Regions from separate parts of the Homo sapiens genome. Here region 2 is linked to region 1. The links are contacts of gene promoters, found by promoter capture Hi-C in blood cells and fetal thymus (Javierre and others, 2016). All regions are on one chromosome and are shown on one strand. The core of a region is centred on a gene start or on the middle of the fragment in contact, and the rest is flanking DNA. Distances in the headings are between cores, read along the strand shown.

The links. Contacts are between HindIII fragments. The CHiCAGO score rates a contact against its expected background, and 5 or more counts as called.
Region 2: a contact is called between the fragment with the promoter of EXOSC5 here and a fragment that was not itself captured in region 1, in 1 of 17 cell types (naive CD8 T cells). The highest score is 5.4, in naive CD8 T cells.

The regions. Positions count from the first base shown.
Region 1 is chr19:40,655,186-40,661,011 of GRCh38, reverse strand. No RefSeq gene overlaps it. Among named protein-coding and RNA genes, the nearest start is that of NUMBL, 33 kb to the left of the region's middle. The HindIII fragment of the contact is 1,018 bases long and covers 1,604-2,621 here.
Region 2 is chr19:41,395,912-41,402,069 of GRCh38, reverse strand. It overlaps EXOSC5 (exosome component 5), which reads left to right and starts at 4,711. Exons shown (of 6, transcript NM_020158.4): 1 at 4,711-4,889. The coding sequence starts at 4,742. It overlaps BCKDHA (branched chain keto acid dehydrogenase E1 subunit alpha), which reads right to left and starts at 4,252. Exons shown (of 9, transcript NM_000709.4): 1 at 4,135-4,252. The coding sequence starts at 4,242. RefSeq lists enhancers at 3,397-4,068, 4,224-4,503, 4,069-4,741 and a silencer at 4,500-4,788. The HindIII fragment of the contact is 9,689 bases long and covers 1-6,158 here.

The DNA of each region.
Region 1 (5,826 bases), core at 863-3,362:
GAAGGGACAAGTTCGGGCGTGGTGGTTCACGCCTGTAATCCCAATACTTTGGGAGGCTGAGGCCAGCGGATCATTGGAGCTCAGGAATTCGAGACCAGCCTGGGTAACATGGTGAAACCCCATCCGTACAAAAAATACATAAATTAGCTGGGTGTGGTGGTGCACACTTGTAGTTCCAGCTACTCAGGAGGCTGAGGTGGGAGGATCACTTGAGTCTGGGAGGTAGAGGTTGCAGTGAGCCGTGATTGCGCCACTGCACTCCAGCCTGGGTCATGCTGAAGATGAAGCCCACCGTGGCATACCATCCACATCAATTTTTGCAGAAAAAAATTAAATTTGTTTATGCCTTAATTAAAGAGGACTTACAGTTAACAGCAGAAACAATAGCCAACACCATAGACATCTCAATTGGTACAGCTTACACAATTCTTTTTTCTTTTTTTTTTTTTTTTTTTTTGAGACAGGGTTCTCATACTGTCGCCCAGGCTGAGTACAGTGGTGAGATTGTGGCTCACTGCAGCCTCAACCTCCTGGGCTCAAGCGATCCTTCCACCTCAGCCTCCGAAGTAGTTGGAACTACAGGTGCGTGCCAGCACGTTCAGCTAAGTGTCACACGCGTCCCTGTGAAGAGACCACCAAACAGGCTTTGTGTGAGCAACAAGGCTGTTTATTTCACCTGGGTGCAGGCAGGCTGAGTCCAAAAAGAGAGTCAGCAAAGGGTGGTGGGATTATGATTAATTCTTATAGGTTTTGGGATAGGCGGTGGAGTTTGGAGCAATGTTTTGCGGGCAGGGGGCGGATCTCACAAAGTTCATTCTCAAGGATGGGAAGAATTACAAAGAAACTTCTTAAGGGTGGGGGAGATTACAAAGTACATTGATCATTAGGGTGGGGCAGAAACAAATCACAATGGTGGAATGTCATCAGTTAAGGCTATTTTCACTTCTTTTGTGGCTCTTCAGTTGCTTCAGGCCACCTGGATGTATACGTGCAGGTCACAGGCGATATGATGGCTTAGCTTGGGCTCAGAGGCCTGACACTAAATTTTCGTATTTTTTGTAGAGATGGGGGTCTCATTAGGTTTCCCAGGCTGGTCTTGAACTCCTGGACACAAGTGATCCTCCTGCCTCATTCTCCCGAACTGCTGGGATTACAGGCTTGAGCCACCTCACCCGGCCTCAGCTTACACAATTCTGACTGAAATTAAAGCTAAACAAACTTTCCACTCGATGGGTGCCAGAACGGTCGCACCCAGATCAGCTGCAGAGAAGAGCAGAGCTTTCCATGGACATGCTAAACAAGTGAGATCGAGATCCTAATGCATTTCCTTGAAGGATTGTAACGGGAAATGATACATGGTTTCACGGGTGCAATCCTAAAGACAAATCGTAATCAGAGAATGATTGCCAAGAGCGGGGAAGTGATCCAGTCAAGGCAGAAGCACACTGGTCAAGAGCAAAGGTCATAGCAACAGTTTTTGGGGATGCTCAAGGCATTTTGCTGGTTGACTTTCTGTAGGGTCAAAGAATAATAAGATCTGCTTATTATGAGAGTGTTTTGAGAAAGTTAGCCGAAGCTTTAGTAGAAATAAGCCTGGGAAGCTTCACCAGAGAGTTCTTCTCCAGCATGTCTACGCTTCTGCTCATTCTCCTCATCAAACGAGCAATTTTACAAGTTTTGATGGGAAATTATTAGGCATCCACTTGGCAGTCCCAATTTGGCTCCTTCTGACTTTTTGTTTCCTAATCTTAAAATCTTTGAAGGGCACCCATTTTTCTTCAGTTAAGAATGTAAAAAGACTGGGCTGGGCGGAGTGGCTCACGCCTGTAATCTTAGCATTTTGGGAGGCCAAGGAGGGTGGATCACCTGAGGTTGGGAGTTCAAGACCAGCCTGACCAACATGGCAAAACCCTGTCTCTACTAAAAAAAAAAATACAAAAATTAGCCAGGTGTGGTGGCTCATGACTGTAATCCCAGCTAGTCGGGAGGCTGAGGCAGGAGAATCACTTGAACCCAGGAGGTGGAGGTTGCAGTGAGCCGAGATCATGCCACTGCACTCCAGCCTGGGCAACAAGAACAAAAAAAAAAGGCCTGGCACAGTGGCTCACAACTGTAATGCTAGCACTTTGGGAGGCCGAGGCGGGCAGATCACCTGAAGTTAGGAGTTTGAGACCAGCCCGGCCAACTTGGCAAAACCTCGTCTCTACTAAAAAAAAAAAAATTAGCCAGATGTGGTGGTACATGCCTGTAGTCCCAGCTACTCAGGAGGCTGAGGCAGGAGAATGGCTTGAACCCGGGAGGCAGAGGTTGCAGTGAGCCGAGATCATACCACTGCACTCCAGCCTGAGCAACAGAGTGAGATTCCATCAAAAAAAAAAAGAAAGAGAAAATGTAAAAAGGCTGCACTGACATGATTAAATTCCTGGGACCCTCAGTTATTTAGGGATAGACTAAATGGCTGGTATAATGGTTTACAAAAGTGTCTTGACTTTGACCTTGATGGAGTTTATGGTGAGAAATAAAGATTTTTTTAAAATTTTTATCTCTTAATTCCATTCTCCATCAACTTTTTGAATTCCCCTCATAACACAATAGCAATTTGTAGCTCATACCTATAAGCTTAGATAGCATACAGTAGCTCATACCTATAAGCTTAAGTAGACATTTACATAACTTTTAGATATCTATAGTACGTAGATAGCTACAGATCAATGTAGATGTCGAAAGAGAAAGAGCGAGACCAGGCCAGGTGGTTCACGCCTGTAACCCCACTGCTTTGGAAGACTGAAGCAAGGGGATCGCCTGAGGCTGGAGGTTCCAGACCAGCCTAGACAACATAGCAAGAACTCATGTCTACAAAAAAATTCTTTTCATTAGCTAGGTATAGTGGCACACACCTGTAGTCTGGGCTACTCGGGAGGCTGATGCAGGAGGGTCTCCCGTGCCTAGGAGTTTGAGGCTGCAGTGAGCTATGATCGAATCATCGTACTCCACCTGGGCAACAGAGAAAGACCCTGCCTCTTAAAACACAAAGAAATAGGCCCAGCACAGTGGCTCACGTTTGTAATCCAAGCACTTTGGGAGGCCAAGGTGGGGGGAATCACTTGAGCCCAGGAGTTTGAGAACAGCCTGGGCAACATGGTGAAAACCCGTCTCTACAAAAAATACAAAAATTAGCTGGGTGTGGTGGTGGGCACCTGCAGTCTCAGCTACTCAAGAGGCTTAGAAGGGAGGATCGCTTGAGCCTAGCAGGTTGAGGCTGTAGTGAGCTGTGATCACACCACTGCACTCCAGCCTGGGCAACAGAGTGAAACCCCATCTCAAAAACAAACAAACAAACACACACACACAAACCAAAACAAAAACAAAAACACAAAAGGCCAGGTGTGACGGTTCACGCCTGTAATCCAGCACTTTGGGAGGCCAAGGCAGGCGGATCACCTGAGGTCAGGAGGTCAAGACCAGCTGGCCAACGTAACAAAACCCTATCTCCACTGAAAAATACAAAAATTAGCTGGGCATGGTGGTGGGTGCCTGTAATCCCAGCTACTTGGAAGGTTGAAGCAGGGAGAATTGCTTGAACCTGGGAGGCAGAGCTTGCACTGAGATCGCACCATTGCACTCCAGCCTGGGTGACAGAGCAAGACTCCGTCTCAAAACAAAAACAAACAAAAAACTGCAAAAACCTAGTGAATCCATATCCACAGTATATTATTATATCTTCTACTTTTCTTGCAATTCTTTTGCATGTTTAGAAATTTTCTAAATAGAAGGGTGGGGGTAGGGGTGTGGTAAGCATCTGCCTTAGAGGAAAGCAGGAATTGTCCATGAGTGGCATATGTGGAATGAGGAGAGGAAGTGCCTCCATATTGCCTGGGTTTCTGGCTTGAGGTCCCAGGTAGAGACATTTTTGAGACTGGGAAGATTGTGATCGTGGAGGGGAATAGGTGTGAAGGGGAAAAATCAACGGTTTAAGAATGACCACCAAGTGTTGGTCAGAGGCTTGTCAAGAAAAAAGAAACCACATGAAGTATTTCAACAAGAAAATTGAATGTAAGGATCTACCTTTCAAAGCAGGTGAGTCTCGAAGGCACTGGAATGTGTGGCTGGAGCTCTGAGGAGGGGGTGGGCTGGGGCCAGGCACAGAAGATACCAGGGATGTATTCATTGCAACACAGGGAGGGTGGATGGACAGCTGAGTAAAGACAAGACCCCTCTCTGGGTACAGCTGTGTAACTGAAGGCAGAGGCATGTGGAGAATGGGTTGTCTTAAGAGTGGGTCAGCCTGGGGCACACATTTCCTTTTCTGAGCAGTGGCCCAGCAGGCTCTAGAATGGGGTTGAGGCATAGTTTCCAGAGGTTTTTTCTTTTTAGAAGTCACCTGCTTATTATTTTTTGCTTTATGCACTCATAGGAGAGTGAAGATGAAAAAGATTATGAAAGAGAGAAATTGATTCACTTTTGAGGATCCCCAGGGTTTTGGAACAATCTTTGAAAACCCCTTCAGTCACAATATTTTGTGGCTCTCTCTTAACTTGTGCAGTTAATCCATAATGGTTGGGGTTTCAGCAGGTTTGCCATTATGACAAGTGCTGTGGTGGACATCCTTGTTGCTAAATTCTTCTGTACACATGAAATCATTTTTTTTAATTTTAAAATTTCTTTTTTTCCTTTATTTTTTATTTTCTTTCCTTAAATACTCTCCTATTCCAGAATAAAACCATCTTTTTTTTTTTTTTTCTCGAGATGGAGTCTTGCTCTGTCACCCAGGCTGGAGTGCAATGGCACGATCTTGGCTCACTGCAATCTCTGCCTTCTGGGTTCAAGAGATTCTCTTGCCTCAGCCTCCCGAGTAGCTGGGATTACAGGCCTGTGCCACTAGGCATGGCTAATTTTTTGTATTTTTAGTAGAGGCGGGGTTTCACCACGTTGGCCAGGCTGGTCTCGAACTTCCTGACCTCGTGATCCACCCACCTCAGCCTCCCAAAGTGCTGGCATTACAGACGTAAGCCACCACGCCAGGCCGAATAAAACCATTTTTAATTGACTTATTTATCCTCCCCACCCCTTTTCAATGACTTGGAAATCAGGATGTGTCTTATAAATGATTATGTGTCATAGTTTAACTGGCAGCTGTTTTTTCTCCCCTGGGGATTTGAAGTGACAATGCATCTTGGCTGGGTGTGGTGGCTCACCCTTGTAATCCCAGCATTTTGGGAGGCTGAGGCGGGTGAATCACTTGAGGTCAGGAGTTTGAGACCAGCCTGGCCAACATGGTGAAACCCCATCTCTACTAAAAATACAAAACTTAGGCGTGGTAGGGCACACCTGTAATCCCAGCTACTCAGGAGGCTGAAGCAGGAGAATTGTTTGAACCTGGGAGGTGGAGGTCGTAGTGAGCTGAGATCGCACCACTGCACTCCCACCTGGGCAACAGAGCAGGACTCTGTCTCAAAATAAAAATAAAAAATAAAATAAAATAAAATAAAAAACAATGCATCTTACCTTTGATGGCTTCTTGGATTTGAATGATTACTGTAATAACAGTAATACTCAGCGTAAACACCCACATAACACTGTGTGCCAAGGTAACTCTTATAACAACGCTGAGAGGCAGATACTATTATTGTCTCCATTTTCCAGAAGAGAAACTGAGCCACAGAGTGGTTAAGGAACTTGGCCCAAAGTCACACAGCTAGAAAGCAATGAAGGGGAGCAGAACCCAGAAAGTGGCTCCAGGGTCTCTGTATTTTTAGGGTTTCCAGTAGATAGTACAAGATGAGCATTATGGTTAAGATTCCTCCCTCCTGGGCCAGGCGCAGTGGC
Region 2 (6,158 bases), core at 3,462-5,961, 740 kb before region 1:
TGTAAGATGTGACTTTGCTCCTCATTTGCCTTCCGCCATGTTTGTGAGGCTTCCCCAGCCATGTGGAACTGTGAGTCCATTAAGCCTCTTTTTCTTTATAAATTACCCAGTCTTGGGTGTGTTTTTATTAGCAGCCTGAAAACGGACTAATACATACACTGAGTACCTACCACTTGGAGATACTGCACAGGGCACTGGAACCCCCAGACAGGCTGCCCCTGAAGAGCTGGGTCACAGAAATAGTCACCGATAATTAGCACAGAGCGAGCTCCAGGGGCTTCCTGACTTCCAACAGGGTAGGGACTCTATTCACCCCACTAGCTAGGGTCAGAGAGGTGAAATGACTTAGCCAAGCCCAGGCCTGGGGTAGTGGCTGAGAAACTGACTCACAATTCCTTGACAATCTGAGTTTCCTTCCTCCTCCTTTCCCTGAGCACTAAAACGTCTGCTATGATAACAGAGACAGGAAGGGAGGTGAAAATCAGGCAAACACATCTGCAGGGCAGCAGGGTATTCAATGAAGGAGTGGGCAGAGCAGGGGCAAGAAGTCGGGGACAAGTAAAGCAGCCCCACTCCTCCTTCTAATCCAATCTTCCCCAGTGAACCCAGTAATCCAATCTGTCTACAATATGCAGCCTCTCAACCTTTCCCTGACTATTTCTTCATCTCCACCTGGATAAAACTGCATCATCTTAGCCAGGCATGGTGGCTCACACCTGTAATCCCAGCACTCTGGGAGGCCGAGGTGGGTGGGTCGCCTGAGGTCGGGAGTTCAAGACCAGCCTGATCAACATGGAGAAACCCTGTCTCTACTAAAAATACAAAATTAGCCAGGCATGGTGGTGCATGCCTGTAATCCCAGCTACTCGGGAGGCTGAGGCAGGAGAATCGCTTGAACCCAGGAAGAGGAGGTTGTGGTGAGCCAAGATCATGCCATTGCACTCCAGCCTAGGCAATGAGAGCAAAACTCCACCTCGAAAAAACAAAAAACAAAACAAAACAAAAACCCTGCACCATCTAATGTGGCAGCCACCAACCACTTGTGGCTATCTTATTTTGAGACAGAGGGCTGCTCTGTCACCTAGGCTGGGGTATAGTGGTGCGATCTCGGCTCACTGCAATCTCCGCCTCCCAGGTTCAAGCGATTCTTCTGCCTCAGCCTCCCAAGTAGCTGGGACTACAGGCACACGCCATTACGCCCAGCTAATTTTTTTGTATTTTTAGTAGAGATGGGGTTTCACCATGTTGGCCAGGCTGGTCTTGAACTCCTGGCCTCAGGCAACCCGCCCACCTTGGCCTCTCAAAATGCTGGGATTACAGGCATGAGCCACCGCACCCAGCCCACTTGTGGCTACTTAAACTTAAACTCATGATAATTTAATAATATGGCCAGGCAAGGTGGCTCACGCTTGTCATCCTGCACTTTGGGAGGCTGAGGCAGGAAGATCGCTTGAGTCCAGGAGTTCAAGACCAGCCTGGAAAACATGGCAAAACCCCATCTCTACAAAGATTTAAAAATTAGCCAGGCGCAGCCAGGCACAGTGGCTTATGCCTGTAATCCCAGCACTTTGGGAGGCCGAGGCGGGCAGATCACCTTAGATCAGGAGTTCAAGACCAGCCTGGTCAACATGGTGAAACCCCATCTCTACTAAAAATACAAAAATTAACTGGGTATGGTGGCGCACGCCAGTAGTCCCAGCTATTTGGGAGGCTGAGGCAGGAGAATCACTTGAACCTGGGAAGTGGAGGTTGCAGTGAGCCGAGATCGTGCCACTGCACTCCAGCTTGGGTGACAGAGCAAGACTCCGTCTCAAAAAAAAAAAAAAAAATTAAAAATTAGCCAGGCGTAGTAGCACGTGCCTGTGGTCCCAGCTACTTAGGAGGTGGAGGTGGGGGGATTGCTTGAGCCCAGGAGGTTGAGGCTGCAGTGAGCCATGATCACACCACTGCACTCACTCCAGCCTGGGTGACAGAGTGAGACCTTGTCTCAAAAAAAGAAAAGGCTAGGCGCAGTGGCTCATGCTTTTGGAGGCCAAGACAGGCGGAACTTGAGGCCAGAAGTTCGAGACCAGCCTGGACAACATGGTGAAACCTCGTCCCTACCAAAAATACAAAAATTAGCCAGGCGTGATAGTGCATGCCTGTAATCCCAGCTACTAGGGAGGCTGAGGCAGGAGAATTGCTTGAACTCGGCAGGCAGAGATTGCAGTAAGTCAAGATCATGCTGCTGCACTCCAGCCTAGGCGAGAGAGTGAAACTCTGTCTCAAAAAAGAAAAAAAAAGAAAAAGGAAAGAGAGGTACAGAAAGAAAGAGAGAGAGAAAAGAGAAGAGAAAAGGAAAGGAAAGGAAAGGGAAAAAGAAAAGAAAAGAAAAAGGAGAGGGGAGGAGAGGAGAGGAGAAGGAGAGGAAAGAAAGAAGAAGAGAGAAAGAACAGGTGGGAGAAATAAAGGGGAAAAAACAATAACTCTTAAGATAATACAAATTTAAATATATATAAATAAAAAGTAGGGACTTCTTCCCTCCCCACTCCCCACCAAAAATGAAGTAGGGGAAGCAAGAGGAAAGGTAATCAAGAGATTGAGACAGGAGAGAAAGATTTAATCAGCCATAAATGACCTTTCCCTAGCCTGCCCCAGTCCTGCCCACCTCCTGCCCCACTTGCCCAGCCAATGGGCCCCTGGGACTGAGATCAGCTGTGGAGGATATGAACTGCTCAAAAAAAAAAAAAAAAAAAAAAGTGAAAAGGTCTCCAGCCCAAAGGCAAGAGACTGCCCTACCCACACCTTGCTCCTGCAGCCCTTCTGTATTTACCTGTTTCAAGTGACTCCGTTCCTAGATACCTACTACGTCCTACTCCTGGCCCATCTTCTTCACCCTCCTCCCGTTTGTTCCCCTACCCAGAGCTTCTTTCTACAGATTCCATCTTCCCCTCCTTATGGATTGGGGATCAGAGGATCAGACTCAACCTCACAATATCTTTTCAGATTTTTTTCCCCAGGGCCTCACCAATCCAGGCCTTCCCAAGGTCACCCCTTTCTTCTCCCCATCTCCAAGGTTAGTTTCTGTCCCTTCCCTCCACCCTCACTATCAACATTCCTATTGCCCTTAGGATGTGCCAGGTCCAGTCCTTAGCATTTTACATATTGATTTTTCACAGCCCTATGAGGTGGCCACTGTTAATATTTTAGAGAGGAAAATTAGCTCCATAGATCCAGAGAAGTGCAGTCCGTTGGCCAAGGCTACACAAGTGGAAAGCGGCAGAGCAAGGACATGCATCCACCCATGTAACCACTACTCTCCTATCTGTCAACTGTAGTTCAAAGCTCTTCTGCAACCCATTGCCTCTCCCCGTCTAAAGATAGGCTTCCACCTAGGTTTTTTGCAGTGTAATCTTGCCCTTAGCAGCATCCACCTGAAGGGATTGTGACCCTTTTGACAAGAAACAAAGCCTTCTCAAGTGTTTCTAAGAAATGTGGGCAAAGTGCCCTGTCTGTACCTCTCTCCCTCCTTTTTTCCCCTCATTAATTCAACAAATATTAATCGTCTCCTCTGTACAGTGTCCAGAACACACGAATTCTCTGTCTTGATATTCGATCAAGAGACACAGGAATCAAACAAATTTTTTACACAATTCATTTTAAAATCAGAATTGTGGCAAAGGAGCAAAGAAATACAAGGCCCTATGCAGCCTGTGACAGGGACCTGTTCTCTTCTTTCTTCTTCTTGAAGAGGGATCTTTGCCCAGAAGAAAGTCCCTCCCTTACAAAGTCAGTTTCATTCTCCAAACCCTGAGGGAGAAGGTCTTGCGGTCTTCCCCTGTTCCTCCAAGGAGCCTCCCCTGAATACCAGTGGCAGCTAATAAGGAACCCCCATCTCTCTCTTCAAGTCGTCTCCCTCAGGGCCCACAAAGAAGTTGCAAACGGGTTTTTTCCTCTCCTAAAGAAGTGGAAGTTCTTTTCGTCTCCTAAGGAAGTGGCAGATCTTCCCTTCGGTGTCTTCTCCAAGGAGTCTCCCACTCTTTTTCCCTTTTGTGACAGCCCTTCCTTCATATCCTTCAGGGACCCCACACTCTGAAGATAGCCTTTACATCCCTAATCCCCTTTGGGAAAACCGCCTGGGGCCCAGGTACTCACAGATCTAGCCAGTCCCCGAGCCCCAGGCTGCCGCAGCAGCAGGAGGGCAGCCTGGCTCAAACCACGGTTTAGCCGCCAGACCCTCGCTGCAGCGATCGCTACCGCCATCTTGGCTAACAACCACTCAGCGGTCCGGCACTCACGTAGGCTAGATTCGGGGCTGCCTCTTTATGTGCCTGACGCAAACTCCAGCACCATCTGACAAGAAAACCATCTTCTTCCCGTTCTGTGGTAGATAGAATGCACAGAGATTTGGAGAAAAAAAAATCTATCTACCCAAAATTTTCTCCAATCGCCTCATTGTAGTTACTCCTGTAACAGGCAAAGAAGAGGGCAACCTGACCAGGGCCTCAGGGATTTAGGGCCCGGGGGCCCAGAGTAAAGCGGATCAATGCCAAGGCCTGCCTTCTGTTCCCAAATGTCCAATGGCGTTGCCAGAGTTAGGAGGTGGGACTGGGCGGAGCCAGATTGTTGGTAAACGCTAAGCCACGTGCGGACGCCCAGGAGGATGGCCCAGCCCGGCGCGTGCGCACTGGTTACGCAGCCTGTTTGCGGCGCGCGCTGCCAGGCGGAAGTGACAACTGCAGCCGCACGTGGGCTCGGCGCGATGGAGGAGGAGACGCATACTGACGCCAAAATCCGTGCTGAAAATGGAACAGGGTCCAGCCCTCGGGGTCCTGGCTGCAGCCTCCGGCACTTTGCCTGCGAACAGAACCTGCTGTCGCGGCCAGATGGCTCTGCTTCCTTCCTGCAAGGTAAGAACTTCACCCAGGTCTTTCTTTTGGAGAGGGACTACCGTGTACTGTGCAACCGAGTGCCCACCTCCTCACGATACCAGCTGGTAAATGTCACTCCTGCGTTGATGCATGATTTCTTGTCCGATTGAATACTACTAAATACGCAGGGATACACACATCTCTCCCTCACGACTAGAAAGGAGAAGATAGTTCCATCTTTGTAACTATCTCTGAGAATGAGAGGAGGGGCAGACTGTCCGCCCAAGAATTGATATTTCAGAATAGGGAAAATCACCTCGCCAGGGTAAATATCCCCCTTAACTCGATTCCTCCTCCACCCTCCCACCCCCACCCCCCACACACACACCCTCTAGGTCCTTGCATCCCGGACTGAAGCAAACCTGTCTATTTGCATACTGTGGACTGTGGCGGATCTTTCACCCACGTAAATACTCCTCAAATTGAAGATAATGTCATTGCGCTGGGTTGAGAAATACATCCCCACCGCTACCTCACTGCATCTCTCCACACAAGTAAATATCCCTAAGATTAGGGCAAGTCAAAAAAAAAAAAAAAAAAAAGATTAGGGCAAGTCTTACCTATAGAGCAAATATCCCCTTTTCCTAGCTAAATAACTCTCAGAAGTAGATTAACTCCAAGAATATTTCTCTTTAACGTTTGAGACGGGAGGCCGGGGGCGGTGGCTCACGCCTGTAATCCCCACACTTTGGGAGGCCAAGACCTGTGGCTCACCTGAGGTCAGGAGTTCGAGACCAGCCTGGCCAACATGGCGAAACCCTGTCTCTACTAAAAATACAAAAACTAGCCAGGCATGGTGGCGGGCGCCTGTAATCCCAGCTACTCGGGAGGCTGAGGCAGGACAATCACTTGAACCTGGGAGGCAGAAGTTGCAGTGGGCCGAGATCGTGCCATTGTACTCCAGCGTGAGCGACAAAGCAAGACTCTGTCTCAAAAAAAAAAAAAATTGAGACAGCGTCTCACGATGTCACCCAGGTTGGTCTTGAACTCCTGGGCTCAAGCAATCCTCCTCCCAAAGTGCTCATACAGGTATGAGCCACCACGCCCAGCCCCAATACATTTTAACAAAATTTGGCTGCTGTGTTGATTGTGGGGAGTATGGGGGAAAACAGGGAGGTGATGGTGGCTCCAGCCAGAGCAGGAGTAGTGGAGGTGATGAGATTCTGGATGTAGTTTGAAAGTAATACGGACAAAACTTACGTATAGTTTGGTTTGAGTGCGAGGAAAAAGATTCAGGCATAACTAAGG